5 separate regions of the Homo sapiens genome follow, and regions 2, 3, 4 and 5 are each linked to region 1. The links are contacts of gene promoters, found by promoter capture Hi-C in blood cells and fetal thymus (Javierre and others, 2016). All regions are on one chromosome and are shown on one strand. The core of a region is centred on a gene start or on the middle of the fragment in contact, and the rest is flanking DNA. Distances in the headings are between cores, read along the strand shown.

Region 1 (4,332 bases), core at 847-3,346:
AATAGTGTGGCATCACCAGATGTCCTTAACACCTAGGTAAGTAAGAATCCTTTCCAGATTGCTGGGCATGGTGCTGTCAGGATCACTTCATCTCAGAAATGTCCTTACTTTCTGCCTTGGCTCCAGAACCTCCAAGCATGGAGTCAGCTTCCTGTTGGAGGAACTGTTTAAGATGCAGTTTCTTACAAGGTGGTACCTTCTTGAATAAATAGTGCTCCATCTTCAGAAAAACAACGCCTGTCTCACTCCTCAGGCTGCCCCCTCCACCTACAAAAACACTTAATCTCACTCGTCCAAAAAAACAGAAAAGGAATAAAGATTTTAGCCAGCATTCCAAACACAAAAGCTACCTCCACTTTTGGGACCCTCCCCAGCCTCCCCCAGGTACCTCTGAATGAGCTGTCTCCCTAGACTAGAAGTAGACACCAAGGCCACCTCCATAGTTTAGGCAAAGAACACAGAAAATCACGAGTCAGGAGCCTGTGGGTACATCTGATCCCACAGACTGGAAAGATTTAAGATTGAAGAGTGATAACTAAGCAAGTCTCAAAAACGAAGGCTCTTGATGATGGAAGGTAGTGTAATAAGAATCAGTACACATATTTAGGAAGGGGCATCCTCCCCCAAGCCCCACCCTACTCTTGTACAAGGTCAGCACAGAAAAGGGGATTATGAAATAAGACAAAATTAATTCTCTTATTATTACTTTAGAATTCTTTCAAGTCCCTTAGTTACAGTTCATAATCTTCACCTCCTTAGGAACGGAAATCATAAATCCAAGGCTTTTTAATTTAATTTAATTTAATTTTGGCAAAGGATGTAGATTTGCATGAATACCTGTAGAGATAAAACCTGTTTTTCCAAGAGGGAAGTAGTTAAGAAAATGCCCTCTGGCATCCCCTAACTCTGTCTTATTTGCTGTGTTATCTTTATGCGAATTACTTCTGATCAATCTCACTTTTCTCATCTGCAGAATGGGGAATATAATCCTATTTAGGATTATATATTAAAAAAAAAAAAAAAAAACTGCCGGGCGCGGTGGCTCATGCCTGTAATCCCAGCACTTTGGGAGGCCGAGGCAGGCGGATCGCCCGAGTCAGGCGTTCGAGACCAGCCTGTCCAACATGGTGAAACCTCGTCTCTACTAATAATGCACAAATTAGCTGGGCATGGTGGCTGACGCCTGTAATCCCAGCTACTTGGGAAGCTGAGGGAGGAGAATCGCTTGAACCCGGGAGGCGGAAGTTGCAGTGAGCCGAGATCACACCATTGCACTCCAGCGTCGCCCACAGAGAGCGACTCTGTCTCAACAACAACAACAAAACCAAAAGGCCCTTAAGCCCACTGCCAGGCACGTATCAAACTGACAATCGTGCAATCGTGATTTTAAGCCAAAGTCAATGTAAATTTTTAAAACACAAAACAAATGGCAAGCCGGAACCATACCTCCCTACAATCTGGATAAATATATTTAGATGCCCATTGGCTGGAGTTTTTAAGACCAGCCCAGGCTCTGTGGGCCAAGAATCGGCGCAGGAGCGAACCGATTTGTTGGCCAAGAATTCGGGCCAAAACTTGTAAAGTTGGCAGACGCACTCGCCATGCCCTTCTCAAGTGCCCTCGCTGCGCAGCCGCAGGGCTGGAGCGAGACCGCCGGCCGGAGGCGCGTTTCTCTGAGTTCACCCAGGAACCAGACGCCCGCTGGACGTCAACTCGGCCGGACGCGGGGCACGGGCGCTAACAGGCTCCTAGGAGCCTCCCCGGGCGCCCCCCGCCCAGGGCGCGCTCTGCTCACCTGCAGGTTTCGGCGGCTCCGCGGTGACTAACAACAGCGGCAGCAGCAGCAGCAGCAGCAGAAGCGGTGGCGGCTGTGGCAGCCCCGGGCGCCCGCCCGGACCGCCGCGGGTCATCGCTCCACGGCCGCGACCTTCCTCTGCGGGATCAGGCGGCCGCGGTGGCCCGCGGTGGCAGAAGTTGCAAGAGAGGCTCCTGGCCTACTCAGGGGCGCCGCCTCTCCGAGGTGGGGCGTCCTCAACTTTCCTCTTTCTTGAGCCCGGCCTGCTCCGGGCTCTGAGGGGCGAGGACGCTTCACGTGGTGGCCTGGGGCCCACCCCGCCTAGGAAAGGCGGATCCTTTACGTCTGACCCTCTAGCAACCCCTGGGCCGGTCTGGGAAAGTTCCCCAGCTGCACTTCTGGGAAATGCAGAGGCTGCCTGCCGCTTTCTTTCGCAGTTTTGCGGCCCAAGGCTTGGGCGAATCAGTTCACATCAACACCCCTACTAGCCTCTCCCTCCGGGGTCGACCATTTATCTCCAGCAGCGGACCAGGCGCCCGGGCCAGGGTGACATGCGCGCCCTGCCTACACGCAGCTCGGATCCTCTGCTGTTTCTGGAGAGGCCTCCACAGGTGCGTTTTCCTCAGCGATTAGCGTACCCCTCATTCCCAGGCTGTTTAACCTAAATCCATGCGCTGTAGCTCAGATTTTTTATCCTTTTTGCTTCCTCTTCGTTGGCTGGAGCCACCACAGGAGAGTGATTCAGACGGGGCTGACACTAGACACACTCCTACGTTTCTGTGGAGTCCCCATTTCTGTGTGGGGTCAGTTAAAAGTGACATTGTGAAGTAGTCAAAAGTTATGCCTTGGGTGATATTGTGAAGTTGGCACCGGGTGCCCTAGGTGACATTGTGAAGTAGGCAAAAGGCATTTCATTCATTCACTCAGCATTGGCTGGGCCCATCTTATACTCCAGATACCAGTGATATAAAGACAGCTAAGAGCATGCCTCACCACAGACAAAAAGAACTAAGCCAGCCGGGCGCCGTGGCTCACGCCTGTAATCCCAGCACTTTGGGAGGCCGAGGCGGGCAGATCACGAGGTCAGGATATCGAGGCCATCCTGGCTAACACGGTGAAACCCCGTCTCTACTAAAAATACAAAAAATTAGTCGGACACGGTGGCGGGCGCCTGTAGTCCAGCTACTTGGGAGGCTGACGCAGGAGAATGGCGTAAACCCGGGAGGCGGAGCTTGCAGTGAGCCGAGATCGCGCCACTCTACTCCAGCCTGGGCGACAGAGCGAGATTCGTCTCAAAAAAAAATAATAATAATAACAATAATAATTTTTTTAAAAAAGAACTAAGCCATATAGATAAACAAGTACACAGAACTTGCCATTCTACTGTGTTAGAGCTATGTTTAAGGTGCAGTGGGAGAGGGGGAAGGAGGGAACAAGCCACCTCTCAGATGGGAACCTCAGCACCCCACTCTTCCTCTTGGCCTTTCTTCTAAGCTTAACCTAGGTGTCAAGGAGAGATGAGAAGAGAGAATAAGCAGTACCTTTCATAACGGGGAAAATGTAATTGTTAGAAAAGATAAAGAACCTAAAAGTTCATCAAATCTCTGTGCAAATTGTGAAACACAAGTCACAATTTTGTGGTCCAGGCACCATGGCTCATGCCTGTAATCCCAACACTTTGGGAGGCCAAGGTGGGAGGATCACCGGAGCCCAAAAGTTCAAGACAAGCCTGTGCCACACAGGGAGACTCCAACTCATTTTTATTTAATTAAAATTAAAGTCACAATTATGTTTAATGGCATTTAATGAATGAAGACATCGAGGACATTGTAAAAGTTGCACATTTTCCTTCAAGTTAGAAAATTAAAATGAAGAAAAATTAAAACGAAGACATCGAGGACATTGTAAAAGTTGCACATTTTCCTTCGTTAGAAAATTTAAATGAAGAAAAATTAAAATGAAGACATCGAGGACATTGTAAAAGTTGCACATTTTCCTTCAAGTTAGAAAATTAAAATGAACCAAAAATGAAAATTTTGGTTGTGTTATGATGGGAAGAGAACCACATTAGGATGTTCAAGGAAGTGGTGCCACCCCAAATATTTGAGTCATATTGCCCTATACCACCCTCCTTCACCTTACTAACCCTTCTGATCCAAGGAGCCAAGTGTTCTGATGAAGTAAGATGCATATAAATGCCTAATGTGAACCTTGAGGCATTCATTCATCTATTATTTGTCATCAAATATTCGTTGACTCCCATGTTCCAAGCACAGAGCAGTAGACAAAACAAAGTCCCTGCCCTTGCAGAGCTTGCATTCCAGTAGTGGGGAGCAAATTATACATATAAACAAATTAATTGGATCAGGACTTCTCCACATCAGCACTATTGAAATTTTGGAGCAGACAACTCTTTGTTGTGGGGGGGTTGTCCTGGACACCCCTTGGCCTTTACCTACTGGATGCTAGTGGCACCCCCATTGAAAATGTCTCCAGACATTGTCAAATGCTCCCGTAGGGGGGCAAAATTGCCCCCT
Region 2 (4,332 bases), core at 667-3,166, 390 kb after region 1:
GCGCATACAGATTAACTTTCACATTGGAGGCCTCACATCCTCATGTTTGCTACTCAGCAAAGCACTGGCAAGCATTAGATGTGCTGAGATGGGGACTTAATCTTCTCAGGCTCAATTAAAATGTCGAATTAAATTAGGATGGTTACTCACAGCATGCATATGACATAGCACACATCAATGTTTTTGCTTGCAAATTCAGTGAAATTTCCAAGACTTTGAAAGTGAATTACACTTAAAAATTTACACCCATGTCAGGATAGAGCATCATCTGTTTCATTAATGCAGCTCTAAATGAACTGAGGACAAGAAAAGGTAGAACTCCTGAGTTTAGATTAAACAAATTACCTGGGTAATTCAGAGAAAGGTGACTTTCATGTCTCATAGAACATAGATTGAGTCAGATGGACCAGGGATTCAAAACCAGGCTCTGCATTATGACAGGACTCAATCAAGTTGCTAATTTCACTGAGCCTCAGTTTTATCACCACTAAAATGGGGATATTCTTTTTTACGGGGTTGAAAGATTGGAGAAAACACATGAAAAATTATAGGACTATACTGGTCAAGAATAGATGTTCCGTGAATATTTGTTCCCTTCCTCTTCTTCCTTCCCTGCCCCAGTGTGGTCTGCTTTGTTGCAAAGCTTCACTGAAGCTAGGTAACTGTTTCCACACCAAATACTTTCCCCTGGATGGGAGCTATGTCCCCACTCCTTCCTCCTTAAAAATAGATTTTTGTCTTTGAGGAGTATTAAAGAGATAAGAAGTTCTGGGGAATTGAAAGGATTGTTTAAAAACTGAATCAACCTTAAAATGAGACTATATTATATTTCTTTTAAAAACTTTCATGTAAACAATTTAATTTTAGGTTTTATTTATTGCTCCCTGTCTTCATTGAAGCCAGAGGTCACTCTGCGAATGATGAGAAATGTCAGTGAACACAGGCACAGCTAATGAAGAGAATTCCCTCTGGCTCTGGAGCAAAATACCACAGAGACTTAACTCACGGCCCAAAGCTGGATCTGCAAAATTGTGCTGGATTATGCATCTAGACACACAGGCCATGGATATTAATGTATTAGGTAGAAGAGATAGCGATGAGAGAGAGAGAAGGAAGAGGGGAAAGAGGGAGAGAGAAAGAGGAGAGAGAGAGGAGGGAGAAGGGAGAAAGAGAGAGAGGGAAGAGAGAGAGAAAAGTGGAAATACCAGAAGTAGGGGATTTCTATCAGAGAAGTTCCTATGTGAGCATCAGCATTCTCTGTAACTCCTGCTACCTCCACTTTCCCTGCTGACTAGGATATGTCTGACTTCCCCCAAATCGGGCTGTGGGTCTAGTGCAGGTCTGGAGAGTCAGGCCATCTCTAAAACACTGTTGACATTTCAGAGCTAGTCAAGGATTTGAATGTGCTGTGCTGCTTGCCTGGCAATTTGGTGTATTACGGGATTGCAAATTTGTCTCTCAGGACACCAGAAGCCTTCTTGGTTCGGGATTCCACCCTCTCCCCACCGCCCCTGTCCCTGGTGACATGGAGGAATCCATACTCCCCACTTTGCGGTGCTGCTTTCTACCACCTCAGCCCCATGAAGGACTACGAAAACTTCAAAACTGGATGAGAAAAACCAAAGACAAGATTATTTTGTAAGAGACAATAAATATTGTAATCAATCCAGAGAAGGGCACAAATTACTAGAAACGTAATTTCTTACCATTTGTCTTTGTGAGAGAAACAATTTATTATTTCTTGCCTGTGCATTTTTTAGTGTGTTTTTCTAACCCACATTCATATGCACAAAGAGAGAGAACTCAAAGAGATCCCGTGAGCTTTGCTGAGTGCCCAACGTGTGAAGTCATGCCACCAAGTACCTTCACAAATATTATTTTAAATAATTCTCAAAGAAAACTGTGCATTAAGGAAGCCATTGCCTTCAGTATCTCAATATATTCACAAAAGTTTTAAATTAGCATGAAAAGTTAGACAGAATTGAGAGAGAATTTTTTTTATGACCGTTTGTGCTAAGATTATTAGGCTCTTTAAGAAAGCCCAAGTGAATTTTTACCAGCGGTAAAATTCACTCTTTGGCTGTGGACACCAGAGAGTAACACAACACAGGATGATTCAGGATGTGCTTATTGCACAGATAAATGTTGCTGACGTTTCAGGGGCAACATGAGACTCATCTCTGGGTATGCCAGTGTAGCCTTGAATACAGGATCCCGGGCAGCAATAACACAAACCAGGAATAAGAACTCTCAAAATATGGAATTGGAGAAAATTTCTTCCATGTGATTCTTCCTAAAGAATGTGGGAGATCACCTGAGCCTCAGGAGGTCGAGGCTGCAGTGAGCTGCGTTCACGCCCCTGCACTTCAGCTCGGGTGACAGAGTGAGACTTGTCTCAAAAAAATAATAATAGGCCATGCATGGTGGCTCACGCCTTTAATCCCAGGACTTTGGGAGGCCAAGGCAGGCGGATTGCTTGAGCCCAGGAATTCAAGACCAGCCCTGGCAACATGGAGAAACCCCGTCTCTACTAAAAATGGTAAAATTAGCCAGCGTGGTGATGCGCGCCTATAGTCCCAGCTACTCGGGAGGTTGAGGCGGGAGGATCACGTGAGCCTCCTGAGTAGGTAGGACCACAGGCACGCACCACCATGCCCTGTGAATTGCAATTCAGAGGCATTGTGGCTATTGATCCTTTTTGTATCAGTATGTAATTTTAGTCAAATTATTGAACACTTCTGCATTCTTCTCAGGAACAAAATTTGAAAGTTTTTATCACCAGGCCTGACACATAGAAGGCACTCAATGAATGTTGGTTCTCCTTTTCTATCTGCATAATTTCGACTCCCCAGGGCTTCTCTTTTCCTGCTAGCTGATGTTTGTCATGTACTGTGCTCTCCCAAATCAGCTCAGACCCGTATCTTTCCCTCAGAATGACTTTGTGGTGCTGAGTGTCTACTGAAAACAGAACCTTAATGTTGCTCAGAGCTAACTTCCCTAGGGGACAAACTCATGCTCTCCAAAGCAAGGAAGGACCAAATTCCAGTCGAGGCCTGAAAAATGCTTGCCAGTTTCTGTTCAGTGACAGCATAGTTAGTCCTCAGGTTTTGCATCTGTGAAGCATGGATGGAGAAAGAACTGTCTCTTAGAATTTCACACATCTCACAAAAGAGTAAGATGCTCTTGTTACTAAGCTTGTGCTATATCTGCTTTGGGAGGGAATATATTCTTACAAATTAAAAAAACACAAAGCCAATGGCAAGATTCACGATGCCTGCTAGGGACTGGACCTCTGCCCCCTGTCTCTCCGGACCAACAGGTGCCATGGTCCTCTTGATCTCCTGTGCCTGACCATCCCTGCAGTGAAGATGGCCAGGCCAACCCTGACTCCAGGGGCTCTAGGTCTCCATGTGAAGTGGTGACCATGAGCCCTCCGGGTGAGAGCAGTCTGCCTTTCCCCACTCTGAATGAAGAACTGCCCAGGGCTTGCCAGACACACACCTCAAGTTACCATAGGTCTAGAGTTTAATTACAGATTATGTTTATGAAACATGCTGGCTGGGAAGTCCTCTAAAAGGGAAGAAAGTATTTCAGGTCATACCTAAAGCACTTCTCCTAATGGTGGCTGAAATTCAGACCTTGACATTTTGAAGGCCCACTGATCAGCTGTCCTAGCTGGGCCCCCTTGAATTTTTCTCAAACCTGTCTCTTAATACGTTATTTGGTGTTTTCCATGTTTGCTGTTAGTTATCTCATACCTAAAGGGCTATTATCATTATTAATATTTTTATTTTTTGAGCCAGAGTTTCGCTCTTGTTGCCCATGCTGGAGTGCAATGGCGTGATCTTGGCTCACTGCAACCCCTGCCTCCTGGGTTCAAGTGATTCTCCTGCCTCAGCCTCCCAAATAACTGGGATTACAGGGATGCACCACCACACCCAGCTAATTTTGTATTTTCAGTAGAGATGGGGTTTCACCATGTTGGTCAAGCCGGTCTTGAACTCCTGACCTCAGGTGATCTACCCGCCTCGGCCTCCCAAAGTGCTGGGATTGCAGGCGTGAGCCACCACGCCCAGCCCTATTATTATTTTTGACAACAACAGCAAAGATCTGCCCATCCGACTGCAGGAATTTAATACACAGCCTTTGTCAGTGGTAGAAATTCTATCACTGTATGACTCATGAGTACATAACAATGTGCTATACCATACTTCCTCTTTGAGGGATAAAGCCCCTGCACTCTAAGGGAGGATTTCATTATGCATTTCTCTTATATCACCAGAAAATTATTTAGTGGAAGACAGTTTAATATTTGACAGCTTTGAACCATTT
Region 3 (4,332 bases), core at 855-3,354, 340 kb before region 1:
GCTCACTGCAAGCTCTGCCTCCCAGTTCACGCCATTCTCCTGCCTCAGCCTCCCAAGTAGCTGGGACTACAGGCGCCCGCCACCACACCTGGCTAATTTTTTGCATTTTTAGTAGAGACAGGGTTTCATTGTGTTAGCCAGGATGGTCTCTATCTCCTGACCTCGTGATCCACCCGCCTTGGCCTCCCAAAGTGCTGGGATTACAGGCATGAGCCACCGTGCTCTGTTTTTTATATCTCCCATAGGTTTTGGTATTTTGTGTTTCTATTTTCATTTGATTCAAAAAATTTTTAATTTTCTTCTTAATTTCTTTATTGTCCCATTGGTTATTCAGAAGCATGTTATTTCATTTCCATGTATTTGTACACTTCCTAAAGTTACTCTAGTGATGGATTTTTAATTTTATTCCATTGTGGGCAACATGGATACTTGATATGATTTCAATTTTTAAAAATTTGTTGAGATTTGCTTCGTAGCCTAACATATGGCATGTTCCATGTGCTGATGAGAAAAATGAGTTATTCTGCAACTATTAAATAAAATATTCTGTAAATGTCTGTTAGGTCCATTTGGTCTATGGTGCAGTTTAAATCCGGTGTTTCTTTGTTGATTATCTGTCTAGATAATCTGCCCAATGCTGACAGTGGGGCATTTAAGTCCTCAACTATTATTGTATTGATATCTATCTCTCCCCCTAAATCTAATGATATTTGCTTTATATATCTGAGTGCTCCAGTGTTGAGTACATATTTATTTAGAATTGTTATATCCTCTCACTGAATTGATCCCTTTATTATTATATAATTACCTTCTCTGTATCTTTTTATAGCTTTTGACTTGAAGTCTGTTTAAGTCTGATACAAGCATAGCTGCTCTTGTTTATTTTTGGTTTCTGCTTGCATGGAATATCTTTTTTCATCCCTTCACTTTCAGTCTATGTGTGTCTTTGTAGGTGAAGTGAGTTTCTTGTAAGCAGTATATAGTTGAGTCTTGATATTTTTTTATCTATTCAGCCAGCCTATATCTTTCTAATTGGGGATTTAATGTTTACATTCAAGATTTTGTTTTTCGTTCAAGATTATTGATAAGTAAGAAAAAAACTCCTGACATTTTGTTAATTGTTTTCTGGTTGTTTTAGATTTCTTTTCTTCCTTTCTTCCTCTCTTATTGTTTATCTTTGTGATTTGGTGGTTTTCTGTAGTGATGAGGTTTGATTCCTTTCTCTTTCTCATTTGGATAACTGTTCTACCTGTGAGTTTTATACTTTCACGTGATTTCATGATGGCAGTAATCATCCTTTTCCTCCAAACGTAGGACTTTCTTAAGCATTTCTTATAAGGCTAGTCTAGTGATAATCAATTCCTTCAGCTTTTGCTTGTCTGGTGATGTAGTTTAAATGTGTGTCCCTGCCCAAATCTCATGTTGACTTGTAATCCCATGTTAGAGGTGGGGCCTGGTGAAAGGTGACTGGATCATAAAGGCAAATTTATCATGAATAGTTTATCACTATCCCCTTGGTGTTGTCCTCAGTAGTGAGTTCTCTTTTTTTTTTTTTTTTTTTTTGAGACGATGTCTTGCTCAGTCGCCCAGGCTGGAGTGCAGTGGCGTGATCTTGGCTCACTGCAAGCTCCGCCTCCTGGGTTCACGCCATTCTCCTGCCTCAGCCTCCCAAGTAGCTGGGACTACAGGGGCCTGCCACCACACCCAGCTAATTTTTTTTTTTGTATTTTTTTAGTAGAGATGGGGTTTCACCGTGTTAGCCAGGATGGTCTCGATCTCCTGACCTTGTGATCCACCCACCTCAGCTTCCCAAAGTGCTGGGATTACAGGCATGAGCCACCACACCCAGCCAGCAGTAAGTTCTCATGAGATCTGGCCCCTTAAAAGTATATGGCACTTCCCCACCTTCTCTTGCTCCTGCTTTCTCCTTGTAATGTGCCTGCTCCTTCTTTGCTTTCTGCCATGATTGGAAGCTTCCTGAGGCCTCCCCAGAAGCAAGATGCCACTATGCTTCCTGTACAGCCTGTAGAACCATTAGCCCATAAAACCTCTCCTTTTATAAATTACCCAATCTCAGGTACTTCTTTGTAGCAATGCAAGAACGGCCAAATACACCTGGGAAAGTCTTTATTTCTCCTTCATTCTGAAGGATAACTTTGGTGGGTATAGTATTCTTTGCTGGCAGTTTTGTTCTTTCACCACTTTGAATATGTCATCCTATTCTCTCCTGGCTTGTAAGCTTTCTGCCAAGGAATCTGCTGTTTCTCTAATGGGGATTTCCTTGTGTGCAATAACACTTTTGTCTTGCTGTTTTTAGAATTATTTGTCTTTTTGACAGTTTTACTATAATGTGACTTGAAGGGGACCTTTTTGGGTTGAATCTATTTGGGAAACTTTGAGCTTCCTGGATTTAACATCTATATCTCTCCTAAGATTTGGGGAGTTTTCAGCTGTTATTTCATTAAATGGGTTTTTCTATATCTTTTCCCATTTCTCCTTAAACATCCATAGTGTAAATATATGTTCACTTAATCATGCCTCACAAGTCCCTTAGGCTGCTTTCTTCATTCTTTTCTTTGTTTTAAAGACAGAGTCTCTGCTACCCAGGCTGGAGTGCAGTGTATGATTATAGTTTACTGCAGCCTCAAACTCCTGGGCACAATGATCCTTCCACCTTAGCCTCGCAAGTAGCTGGGACTGCAGATGCATGCAACCACACCTGGCTAATCTTTTTCCCCCAGAGATGGGGTCTGACTTTGCTGCCCATGCTGGTCTCAAATTCCTAGGCTCAAGCAATTCTCCCACATCAGCCTCTCAAGTAACTAAAATTACAGGCATGAGCCCATGTGCCCAGATTTTTCTTTTTAACTTTTTATTTTTGGTGGTCTGACTGGGTTATTTCAAAAGTCTTTTTGAATTCTTTCAAAAGAGTTTCAGAAATTCTTTCTTCTGCTTGATCTACTCTATTGTTGAAGCTCTCAACCATATTTTTTATTTGTTAAATTCTTCAGCTCCAAATTTTCTGTTTGGTTTCTTTTTTTGATATCTATTTATTTGTTGAATTTCTCATTCAGATCGTGAATTTCTCTCCTAATTTTGTTAAATTGTCTATCTGTATTCTTTTGTATCTCACTGAGTTACCTTAAGATCATTATTTTGAATTTCTTTTCAGGCATTTCATTGATTTCCTTTTCTTCAAGTCTGTTACTAGAGAATCATTGTGTTCCTTTGGAGGTGTCATCAGATCAGCCCAAGGAACATCTCACCAATTTCAAATCAGGAAGCGGTCTCTTCACTCTCTTCTCCAGCCTCTCTTGCTACCCTTCAGTCTCCCTATCCTTCCAATTCCAGTTCTTTTCCTTTCTAGTAGAGACAAAGGAGACACATTTTATCTGTGAACTCAAAAACTCCAATGTCCGTCACAGATTTGGGAAGACAGTCTTCCCTTGGTGTTTGATCATAGCGGGGACGCCTGCCTTCATCATTCACCCACACTCCCTTGGTGGCAGGTCAATTGCAGGGACACCTGCTTTGGCTGCTCACCCACATTACAGCCCAGGACTCAGTCAGGGACGCATACTGGAAGCCTGGTATCTGCCCACCTCCATTTCTCCGTGTCTCTACCTTCCTCTTTAAACTTACCTTCTCCACTATGGGCAACCTTCTACCATCCATTCCTCCCTCTTCCCCCTTAGCCTGTGTTCTTAAAAACCTAAAACCCCTTCGACTAACATCTGACCTAAAACCTAAACGTCTTATTTTCTTCTGTAATACCGCTTGGCCCCAATACAAACTCGACAATAGTTCCAAGTGGCCAGAGAATGGCACTTTTGATTTGTCCATCCTACAAGATCTAGATAATTTTTGTCATAAAATGGGCAAATGGTCTGAGGTGCCTGACATCCAGGCATTCTTTACACATCAGTCACTTCCTAGTCTCTGCTCCCAATGCAACTCGTCCCAAATCTTTCTTCTTTCTCTCCTGTCTGGTCCTTCAGTCTCCACCCCAAGCTCTGAGTCCTTTGAATCCTCCTTTTCTACAGACCCATCTGACCTCTCCCCTCCTCCCCAGGCTGAGCCAGGTCCCAATTCTTCCTCAGCCTCCGCTCCCCCACCCTATAATCCTTCTATCACCTCCCCTCCTCACACCCAGTCTGGCTTACACTTTTGTTCCACGACTAGCCCTCCCCCACCTGCCCAACAATTTCCTCTTAGAGAGGTGGCTGGATCTGAAGGCATAATCCAGGTTAATGCTCCTTTTTCTTCATCTGACCTCTCCCAAATCAGTTAGCGTTTAGACTCTTTTTCATCAAATATAAAAACCCAGCCCAG
Region 4 (4,332 bases), core at 1,233-3,732, 310 kb before region 1:
TCTTCCTCTCCTCACTTTGGCAGTGATAGACTCTTGCTCACTCCCTTTGTGCACTCTGGTAGAAAAGCAGCACATTCCATTTAGTTATGCCTCTGTCAGCACGGCGAGTGTTATTTAATTGCAGAAAACAATTTGGAGATAAGAGTGAGATTCAGGAAGGAAATTATTTTCCTTTCTTTTCAAAAATGGTACAAAAATAACAAGAACAAAACCATACTTAAGGAAGGAAGTAGATGGAACACAATAATATGGAGAACCATTATTCCTTCCCAGATTAGGCAGGAGAGCTAGGATCTAGTCCTATCTGGCCACACAAAACACATGGTTCAAGCTTTCTGGAGTTCCGTTTCCTCATCTGAAAAGGCAGGGGGTTAATTTTGTATTAAGATACTTTGAAGAAGGAATAACCATTTTTCGTGAAAGTTCAAGGGAGGATATAAAAAGAAACTAAGATTTAACAACACTTATCTTGTGCCAGGTAATTAGCACTAGGATTTTTAAAGTAGAGACTCAAGCATCCTGGGTTTGTGTTTGTGTTCTGCCTTCTACTAGCTGTGTGACCTTGGGCAAGTTACCTAACTTCTCTGTGTTTCCTTGTCCCCAGCAGAAAATGGGAACAATGGGCCAGGCACAGGGGCTCACGCCTGTAATCCCAGCACTTTGGGAGGCTGAGGCGAGAGGATCACTTGAGTCCAGGAGTTCAAAACCAGCCTAGGCAACATAGCAAGACTTCCTCTCTACTAAAAATCTAAAAATTAGCCAGAAGCAGTGGTACAAGCCTGCAGTCTGAGCTACTCTGGAGGCTGAGGCAGGAAGATCACTTGAGCCCAGGAGTTCAAGGCCACAGTGAGCTATGACTGCACCACTATACTCCAGCCTGAGCAACAGACAGAGATCCTAACTATAAAAAATAAAAATAAAATGGGAACAATTGTACCTTCTCCAAAGGGTGGCTATGAGGAAAACAGTTTATATATACAATGTGGTTTATACATACTATATATACATATATATCATAACAGTAAACTGGCACAAAGTATTGCTATGTAATTGCTCTTATAATGATTATTACAACTTTATAGAGATATTTTTATAGATGAAAAAACAAAATAGATGAGGAAACCACGGCTTCAGAGCTTTGAGTTTTTCTGACCTCAATATTCGGTCTCTCAACTATTGATTACCCTGAACCAGTTAAAAGAAGTGAAAGTCAGCCGGGCGTGGTGGCTCACGCCTGTAATCCCAGCACTTTGGGAGGCTGAGGTGGGCAGATCACCTGAGGTTAGGAGTTCGAGACTAGCCTGGCCAACATGGAGAAACTGTCTCTACTAAAAACACAAATTAGCCGGGTGTGGTGACGCATGCCTGTAATCCCAGCTACTCGGGAGGCTGAGGCAGGAGAATCTCTTGAACGCCAGAGGCGGAGGTTGTGGTGAGCTGAGATCGTGCCATTGCACTCCAGCCTGGGCAACAGGAGCGAAACTCCATCCCAAAAAAAAAAAAAAAAAAAAAAAGAAGTGAAAGTCACAGAATTTTGTAGTCAGTTAGGGAAATCCTACCAGTTTCACAACGAGTCAATCAAAACCTTGCAATAAATACACAATAAAGCTGTGCTTCAAATGTCCTCCAACACCTAGCACAGCTTTTAGAACAGCTAATTTGCTTAGGTGAAGAAATGCTCCAGGCAGGGCACAGTGGCTCATGCCTGTGATCCCACCTCACTGGGAGGCAGAGGTAGGAGTCACTTGAAGCCAGGAGTTTGAGGGCAGCCAGAGCAACACAGAGAGACCCTGTCTCTGTGAAAAAATAAAAAAATAAATAGGCCAGGCATGGTGGCTCATGCCTGTAATCCCAGCACTTTGGGAGGCCCAGGCGGGTGGATCATTTGAGGTCAGGAGTTCAAGACCAGCCTGGTCAACATGGCGAAAGCCCATCTCTACTAAACATACAAAAATTAGCCAGGCTTGGTGGTAGGCACCTGTAATCCCAGCTACTAGGGAGTCTGAGGCAGGAGAATCGCTTGAACCAGGGAGGTGGAGGTTACAGTGACCAGAGATTGCACCACTGCACTCCAGCCTGGGCAACAAAGTGAGACTCTGTCTCAAAAAAAAAAAGAAAAATAGAAAAAAATAACCAAGTGTGATGGTGCATGCCTATAGTCCCAGCTACTCTGGAGGCTGAGGTGAGAGGATCACTTGAGCCCAGAAGTCAAGGCTGCAGGGAGCCAGGATCAGGCCACTGCACTCTAGCTAGCATCAGTGACAGAGTGAGACCCTGTCTCAAAAAAAAAAAAAGCCCCAAAGACATTACTCTTGTGTTGGGCTGAAATCCAGTGAATTGGTGGCCCCTCTCTCTCTCTCTCATCTGAAGGTTTTCAGAGATGCAAATTGCCTACTTGAAATTCTGTGGCATTAGACTTCTGCTTGGATGAGTCCCTGGCCAGGAGTAGAATCTTTTTTTTTTTTTTTGAGACTGAGTCTTGCTCTGTCACCCAGGCTGGACTGCAGTGGCACGATCCCAGCTTAGTGCAACCTCTGCCTGCCGGGTTCAAGCGATTCTCCTGTATCCCCTCCCTAGTAGCTCAGATTACAGGCACCCACCACCATGCCCAGCTAATTTTTATATTTTTAGTAGAGACGGGGTTTTGCCATGTTGGCCAGGCTGGTCTCAAACTCCTGACCTCAAGCGATCCACCCACCTCAGCCTCCCAAAGTGCTGGGATTACAGGCGTGAGCCACCTCGCCCAGCTAGGATCCATTTTTTTTTTTTTTTTTTTTTTGGGACAGAGTCTCGCTCTGTCACCCAGGCTGGAGTGTGGAGTGCAGTGGCGCGATCTCGGCTCACCGCAACCTCCACCTCTTGGGTTCAAGCAATTCTCCTGCGTCAGCCTCCTAGTAGCTGGGACTACAGGTGCATGCCACCACACCCAGCTAAGTTTTTGTATTTTTAGTAGAGGTGAGGTTTCACTGTGTTAGCCAGGATGGTCTCAATCTCCTGACCTCATGATCGGCCCACCTTGGCCTCTCAAAGTGCTGGGATTACAGGCGTGAGCCACCATGCCCGTTGTGTGTGTGTGTGTGTGTGTGTGTGTGACACGAAGTTTCAATCTTGTTGCCCAGGCTGGAGTGCAATGGCATGATCTCAGCTCACTGCAACCTCTACCTCCCGGGTTCAAGCAATTCTCCTGTCTCAGCCTCCCGAGTAGCTGAGATTACAGGCGCCCGTCACCACCCCTGGCTAATTTTTGTATTTTTAGTAGAGATGAGGGTTTCTCCATGTTGGCCAGGCTGGTCTCGAACTCCTGACCTTCGGGTGATCCACCCACCTCGGCCTCCCAAAGTGCTGGAATTACAGGCATGATCCACCAGGCCTGGCCGCCAGGATACTCTTTTAAAGGAGGAATTGGTAAATCCTTTCCCTCTGGTGATAGGGACAGTTTTGATAAAGATGGAAGGGGGAAAACCATGTGCATGACTCCAGACTCAGAAACCAAAACCCAAGTTGAATTCCATCTCAGAGTAAAATCAAGTACTACAGATGAGAAAACACAGACGGTAAGAATTATAAGACTAGTGTGTCTTTTCTTAGGGGATAAAAGCTGTTTGACAGCATCTGCAACAAGTGGTTCACAAACACGTCCATCATCTACTTCCTCAACAAGAAGGAGCTGTTGGAGGAGAAGATCACACACAGCCCCTGACCATCTGCTTCCCTGAGTACACAGGGTCCAACAAGTATGATGAGGCAGCCAGCTACAACCAGAGTAAGTCTGAGGACCTGAATAAGCACAAAGACACCAAGGAGATCTACACACACTTCACATGCGCCACCGATACCAAGAACGTAGTTCGTGTTTGATGCCATCACCGACGTCATCATCAAGAACAACCTGAAGGACTGGGGCCTCTTCTGAGGGGCAGTGGGACCTAGCAGGATGGGCCACCACCAACTCTGTACCCCCCAACCCCTGAGGAAGATGGGGCAAGAAGACCATGGTCCCCACCTGTTCCCTGGACACTTTTCTCTTCTTTCCTTTGTTCTTAGCTCCCCCATCCCCTCAGCTTCAGACATAGGGGAGGGGTTGCCACAGGCCTCCCTGTTTGAAGCCTGCCCTTGTCTGAGGTGCCAGTAATGGCCATGGTACCCCCTTTCTGGGCATCTTTCTGGTACCCCCCAGAAGCTGTGAAGATTCTATTCTACTCAGTAGCTCTCATTATGTAAAGAGGAACCCTGAAATAAATCAGTTGTTCCTGAAAGTTCACAAGAGTAAGAAAACAGACTGAATCGTAAAAGAACTAACTGGTATAAAAGAAGAAGCCAGAAAGTAGTGGA
Region 5 (4,332 bases), core at 1,078-3,577, 300 kb before region 1:
CTTTTTTTGAGTGGTCCCACCTTTTTTTTTTTTTTGAGTTGTCCTGCCTTTGCTTCAAGTCATCCCACCTTTCCAGACTGAACCAATGTTCATCCTACATATGTTGATTGATGTTTCATGTCTCCCCAAAATGTATAAACCAAGCTGTGGGCTGGGAGCGGTGGCTCACGCCTGTATCCCAGCACTTTGGGAGGCCTAGGCGGACGGATCACAAGGTCAGGGGTTCGAGACCAGTCTGGCCATCATGGTGAAACCCCATCTCTGCTAAAAATACAAAATTAGCCAGGTGTGGTGGCAGGCGTCTGCAATCCCAGTTACTTGGGAGGCTGAGGCAGGAGAATCGCTTGAAACCAGAAGGTGGAGATTGCAGTGAGCCTAGATCAGCCACTGCACTCCAGCCTGGGCGAAAGAGTGAAACTCTGTCTCAAAAAAGAAAAAAAGAAAAAGAAAAACAAGCTGTATTCTTCCCACCTTGGGCACATGTCATCAGGACTTCCTGAGGCTGTGTCACAGGTGCACATCCTTAACTTTGGCAAAATAAACTTGCTAAATTGACTGAGACCTATCTCAGATATTCAAGGTCCGCAAGAACAAACAAATAACCAGTCTGATAAGTCGTAAGAAAGTTACACTCTGTCACATGGACCCTAAAAAGGCCAAGACACTCACTCGCCTTCCCAAGAAGAGTCTCTGTAGAGACTCAATGGTAAACCTGTAGGCAGTCAAGAGTCTCCTGTCCTCAAACACCTAGCAAGCAGTGCTATATGAAGGTACTAGGAAACTTTAACTAGGAAACTTTAAACAATTGAAGATTCTCGACTTCAGATAAGGGATAGGAACAAAAGCAGTACTGATAATATTGAAATACTGTTTTGTGATTGCATTTGATAGTGGGGAAAAGGACATATGAAACCCTCCAGACTTTTTCTCTTGGTGCCCTAAAACTTCTGGCTCATTGAGATTAAAAGGATCAAAATGCAATCTTATCCAGGGATAAAAGGCATTTTTACAATTGGAACTCTAAAATAGTATGTCATCCACTTTAGGACAAAGTGGATGGAGAGAATAAGGCATAATATCAAATACAAGTCCCCCAAATAGAAAGTTACAAGGGTGGACAGAATGTGGAAAAAAACTAAGACAAACCAAATGAGAACAAGCAAATTCTATTTATTCAGAGATTGCTATAGCTAGGGAGTCAACCACTGTCACTTGTATTTTGGCAGACACTCCAAGGCAGGCAGAGGAGTAGGAAAGTTTTATTGTAGGAAAAAGGAAAGGCTTCAACTATGCCCCAGTTAGAGGCTGTTGGCATGAGGAAGCTGTAAGCAGGCAAACTAGAAACAGGAATTCCTATGTGATTGGTTAGGGGTACACATTTGGCTTTCTCTGATTTTTTTTTTTTTTTTTTTTTTTTTGAGACAGAGTCTCACTCTGTCCTCAGGCTGGAGTACAGTGGCGCAATCTTGGCTCACTGCAACCTCTGCTTCCTGGGTTCAGGCGATTCTCCTGCTTCAGCCTCCTGAGTAGCTGGGACTACAGGCGTGCGCCACCATGCCCAGCTAATTTTTGTATTTTTTTTTAGTAGAGACTGGGTTTCACCATATTGGCCAGGCTGGTCTCAAACTCCTGACCTCAGGTGATCCACCTGCCTCAGCCTCCCAAAGTGCTGGGATTACAGGCATGAGCCACTGCACCCATCCGGTTTCCTCTGATTGGTCCTAATTTGGAAGCAGGGACAAAAATTAGAAAAGCGGTCAGTTATTAATCAAGTCCTGGCCATATTGGCTTGTTGTCACAGGAAACAACTGTTATTGTTTGGCCTCTTAGACTGTCACTAAAGATCTGTGACTCCCAACAAATCTGACTTACAGCAGACTGTCTCACTGGTTGGCTATTGAAAATAAGTGATTAGTTTCCTGGATAGGTTGCTGCATGTTGTCAATGAAGGAAGGAAGAACTTTACCCTCTTATGTTATTAGGTACCTGGGGCCTGCAAATTAAACTGACAAATATTACAACAGGAAAAACATATACAATTTCATTTGGTGTTAATGTTTTTATATGGCATGGAGGGCTTCACAGAGAAGATGTGAAAACCTCAAAACATGTGGATAGAGAGGTTTATATACCATTTTAACAAAAGGCAATAAATTGTGAAGACATAGGTAGATAAAGGACAGGGGTTTGGGCTTCTACAGGTGGTAAGTTTTTGGAAAGTACCTAGGAAGTATATGAGGAAAACTAATGGAAGATAAGGGCTATATTAATAAGGTTTGTTTGTGCAGACAAACAATCAGTGTCAATTCTCCATTTCCATTGATAAGAATGTTTTCTTTCTGGTTATGGGAGAGCACCTTTCTCATGGGAAATGTATGTCAGGCCAGGTGTGGTGGCTCACACCTGTAATCCCAGCAGTTTGGGAGGCCAAGGCAGGCAGATCACGAGGTCAGGAGATCGAGGCCATCCTGGCTAACACAGTGAAACTGTGTCTCTACTAAAAATACAAAAAATTAGCCAGGCATGGTGGCCGGTGCCTGTAGTCCCAGCTACTCAGGAGGCTGAGGCAGGAGAATGGCGTGAACCTGGGAGGCGGAGCTTGCAGAGATGGCACCACTGTACTCCACCCTGGGAGACAGAGTGAGACTCCATCTCGAAAAAAAAAAAAAAGAAAAAGAAAAAAAAAGAAAAGTGAAGGTCAAGAGGCCATTTGCTGTTTTTCAATTGCCTTCAGTTCAAAATAATCAATATGCTAAAGCAGCGTATTTGGGGGCAACATGTTCTGATCCCCTTCATGGGTCAGAGTTCTGTTGTTATCTATGGTTCAGCCACTGCCCATTTGTATTTCAACTTCAAATTGCAGTCTTTCGATTCCAAATTGCAGATGTACACTTGAGATCACACTCCTTCAGACATGAGCCTGCCCCAGAATGAGGCAGTGAGAATTTACTTACTTTATGATGGCTAATGATTCTTTTGAGCAGACAATTATTTTAGCCAATAATTTTAGCCAATTATTTTGGGTGAGATTAAATAGTAATAAGAAGAAAGCAATGTCACCAACCATTTTCCCTAAGATATGGTGGAAAAAATGATGGTTGCTTCATAACCCTGCAAGGAGTATCTGAATTTCCCAAATTGACACCTGACACCACGTATGCATCCCTTTTTTTTTTTAAACAGGGTCTCACTTTGTCACCTAGGCCAGAGTGCGGTGGCATGAACACAGCTCACTGCAGCCTTGACCTCCTAGGCTCAAGCGATCTTCCCACCTCAGCCGCTTAGTAGCTGGTACTACAGGAATGCACCACCACACCTGGCAAGTTTTTGTATTTTTTGCAGAGATGAGGTCTCACTATGTCACCTAGACTGGTCTCGAACTCCTGGGCTCAAGAAATCCACCTGCCTCAACCTCCCAAAGTACTGGGATTATAGGTTTGAGCCACCATGCCTGGCCCCCCATATGCACCCCTAATGGATAGAATTTGAAACTTGAAAAAATGGAGAAATTTAGCCGATTATTTTGGGCAGGAGTGCTTTCCCCATAATTAGGCTGTCTTCTGCCAGATTCTTTTAGGAGCCAACCCTAAGCAAAAGGTTTAAATGTAAGTAGTTTGAGTGGTGATCATAGGAAGCACTGACAGGGGAAAGGGGCAGTAAGACAGGGAAGTGAGGGAAGCCTAGACCATTACGTTACCAATGGGGGCAACCGAGGGTCAGTCATGCTGGGAACCTGTGGGAGCTGTCCCACCTGAGGGGAAGAGGAAGCTGGAGTTTGTCCTCTAATTACTATCAGTCATTAGTTTATAGTTGCTTCCAGGAGTGTTAACTCTACAGCGCTGAGGACTTTCTCTACACCTGAACTGAGGAAAAGCCCTCGGGCAGCATCATGTACTAGCAGTAGGATACCGTCTGCACATATAGAAACAGTAAGTATTGCAGGGATATGAGCATGGTACTGACAGGATCTTCCACACTGGCCAAAAAAATGAGGACTCTGATTCCCTATAAAGTACTGAGATCTAAGAGAATCCAAAAATGTATGATAGCAACTGTCCATATCGCTGACATTCTTTCTTCCTTCCCTGTGGGTAGATGTTTAGTAAATCCCGAAAATGTTCCCTAGGTCTGACTTCATTTTCTTTTCTTTTCTTTTTTTCTTTCTTTTTTTTTTTTTTTTTTGAGACAGAGTCTCCCTTTGTTGCCCAGTGCTACTGGCGAATCTCGGCTCAGGGCAACCTCTGCCTCCCAGGTTCTAAGCGATACTCTTGCCTCAGCCTCCAGAGTAGCTGGGATTACAGGCATGCACCATCACTCCTGGCTAATTTTGTA

Evidence for each region. The method cuts DNA at HindIII sites, captures the fragments that hold promoters and counts their contacts. A CHiCAGO score of 5 or more calls a contact.
Region 2: a contact is called between a fragment that was not itself captured here and the fragment with the promoter of PLBD1 in region 1, in 1 of 17 cell types (neutrophils). The highest score is 10.7, in neutrophils.
Region 3: a contact is called between a fragment that was not itself captured here and the fragment with the promoter of PLBD1 in region 1, in 1 of 17 cell types (M1 macrophages). The highest score is 5.9, in M1 macrophages.
Region 4: a contact is called between a fragment that was not itself captured here and the fragment with the promoter of PLBD1 in region 1, in 2 of 17 cell types (monocytes and neutrophils). The highest score is 8.5, in monocytes.
Region 5: a fragment that was not itself captured here is called in contact with the fragment with the promoter of PLBD1 in region 1 in 1 of 17 cell types (neutrophils); the score reaches 6.1 in neutrophils.

What each region holds. Positions count from the first base shown.
Region 1 is chr12:14,565,787-14,570,118 of GRCh38, forward strand. PLBD1 (phospholipase B domain containing 1) reads right to left here and starts at 2,097. Exons shown (of 11, transcript NM_024829.6): 1 at 1,796-2,097. The coding sequence starts at 1,910. PLBD1-AS1 (PLBD1 antisense RNA 1) reads left to right here and starts at 1,946. Exons shown (of 6, transcript NR_120465.1): 1 at 1,946-2,020; 2 at 2,233-2,406. RefSeq lists silencers at 942-1,118, 1,858-1,967 and an enhancer at 1,363-2,044. The HindIII fragment of the contact is 11,340 bases long and covers 1-3,287 here.
Region 2 is chr12:14,956,725-14,961,056 of GRCh38, forward strand. The region is part of intron 1 of ARHGDIB (Rho GDP dissociation inhibitor beta); the gene reads right to left. Among named protein-coding and RNA genes, the nearest start is that of ARHGDIB, 2.7 kb to the right of the region's middle. RefSeq lists an enhancer at 3,220-3,329. The HindIII fragment of the contact is 2,551 bases long and covers 642-3,192 here.
Region 3 is chr12:14,228,163-14,232,494 of GRCh38, forward strand. No RefSeq gene overlaps it. Among named protein-coding and RNA genes, the nearest start is that of ATF7IP, 140 kb to the right of the region's middle. The HindIII fragment of the contact is 266 bases long and covers 1,972-2,237 here.
Region 4 is chr12:14,251,319-14,255,650 of GRCh38, forward strand. It overlaps the pseudogene GNAI2P1. Among named protein-coding and RNA genes, the nearest start is that of ATF7IP, 110 kb to the right of the region's middle. The HindIII fragment of the contact is 4,306 bases long and covers 330-4,332 here.
Region 5 is chr12:14,268,447-14,272,778 of GRCh38, forward strand. No RefSeq gene overlaps it. Among named protein-coding and RNA genes, the nearest start is that of ATF7IP, 95 kb to the right of the region's middle. The HindIII fragment of the contact is 5,994 bases long and covers 1-4,332 here.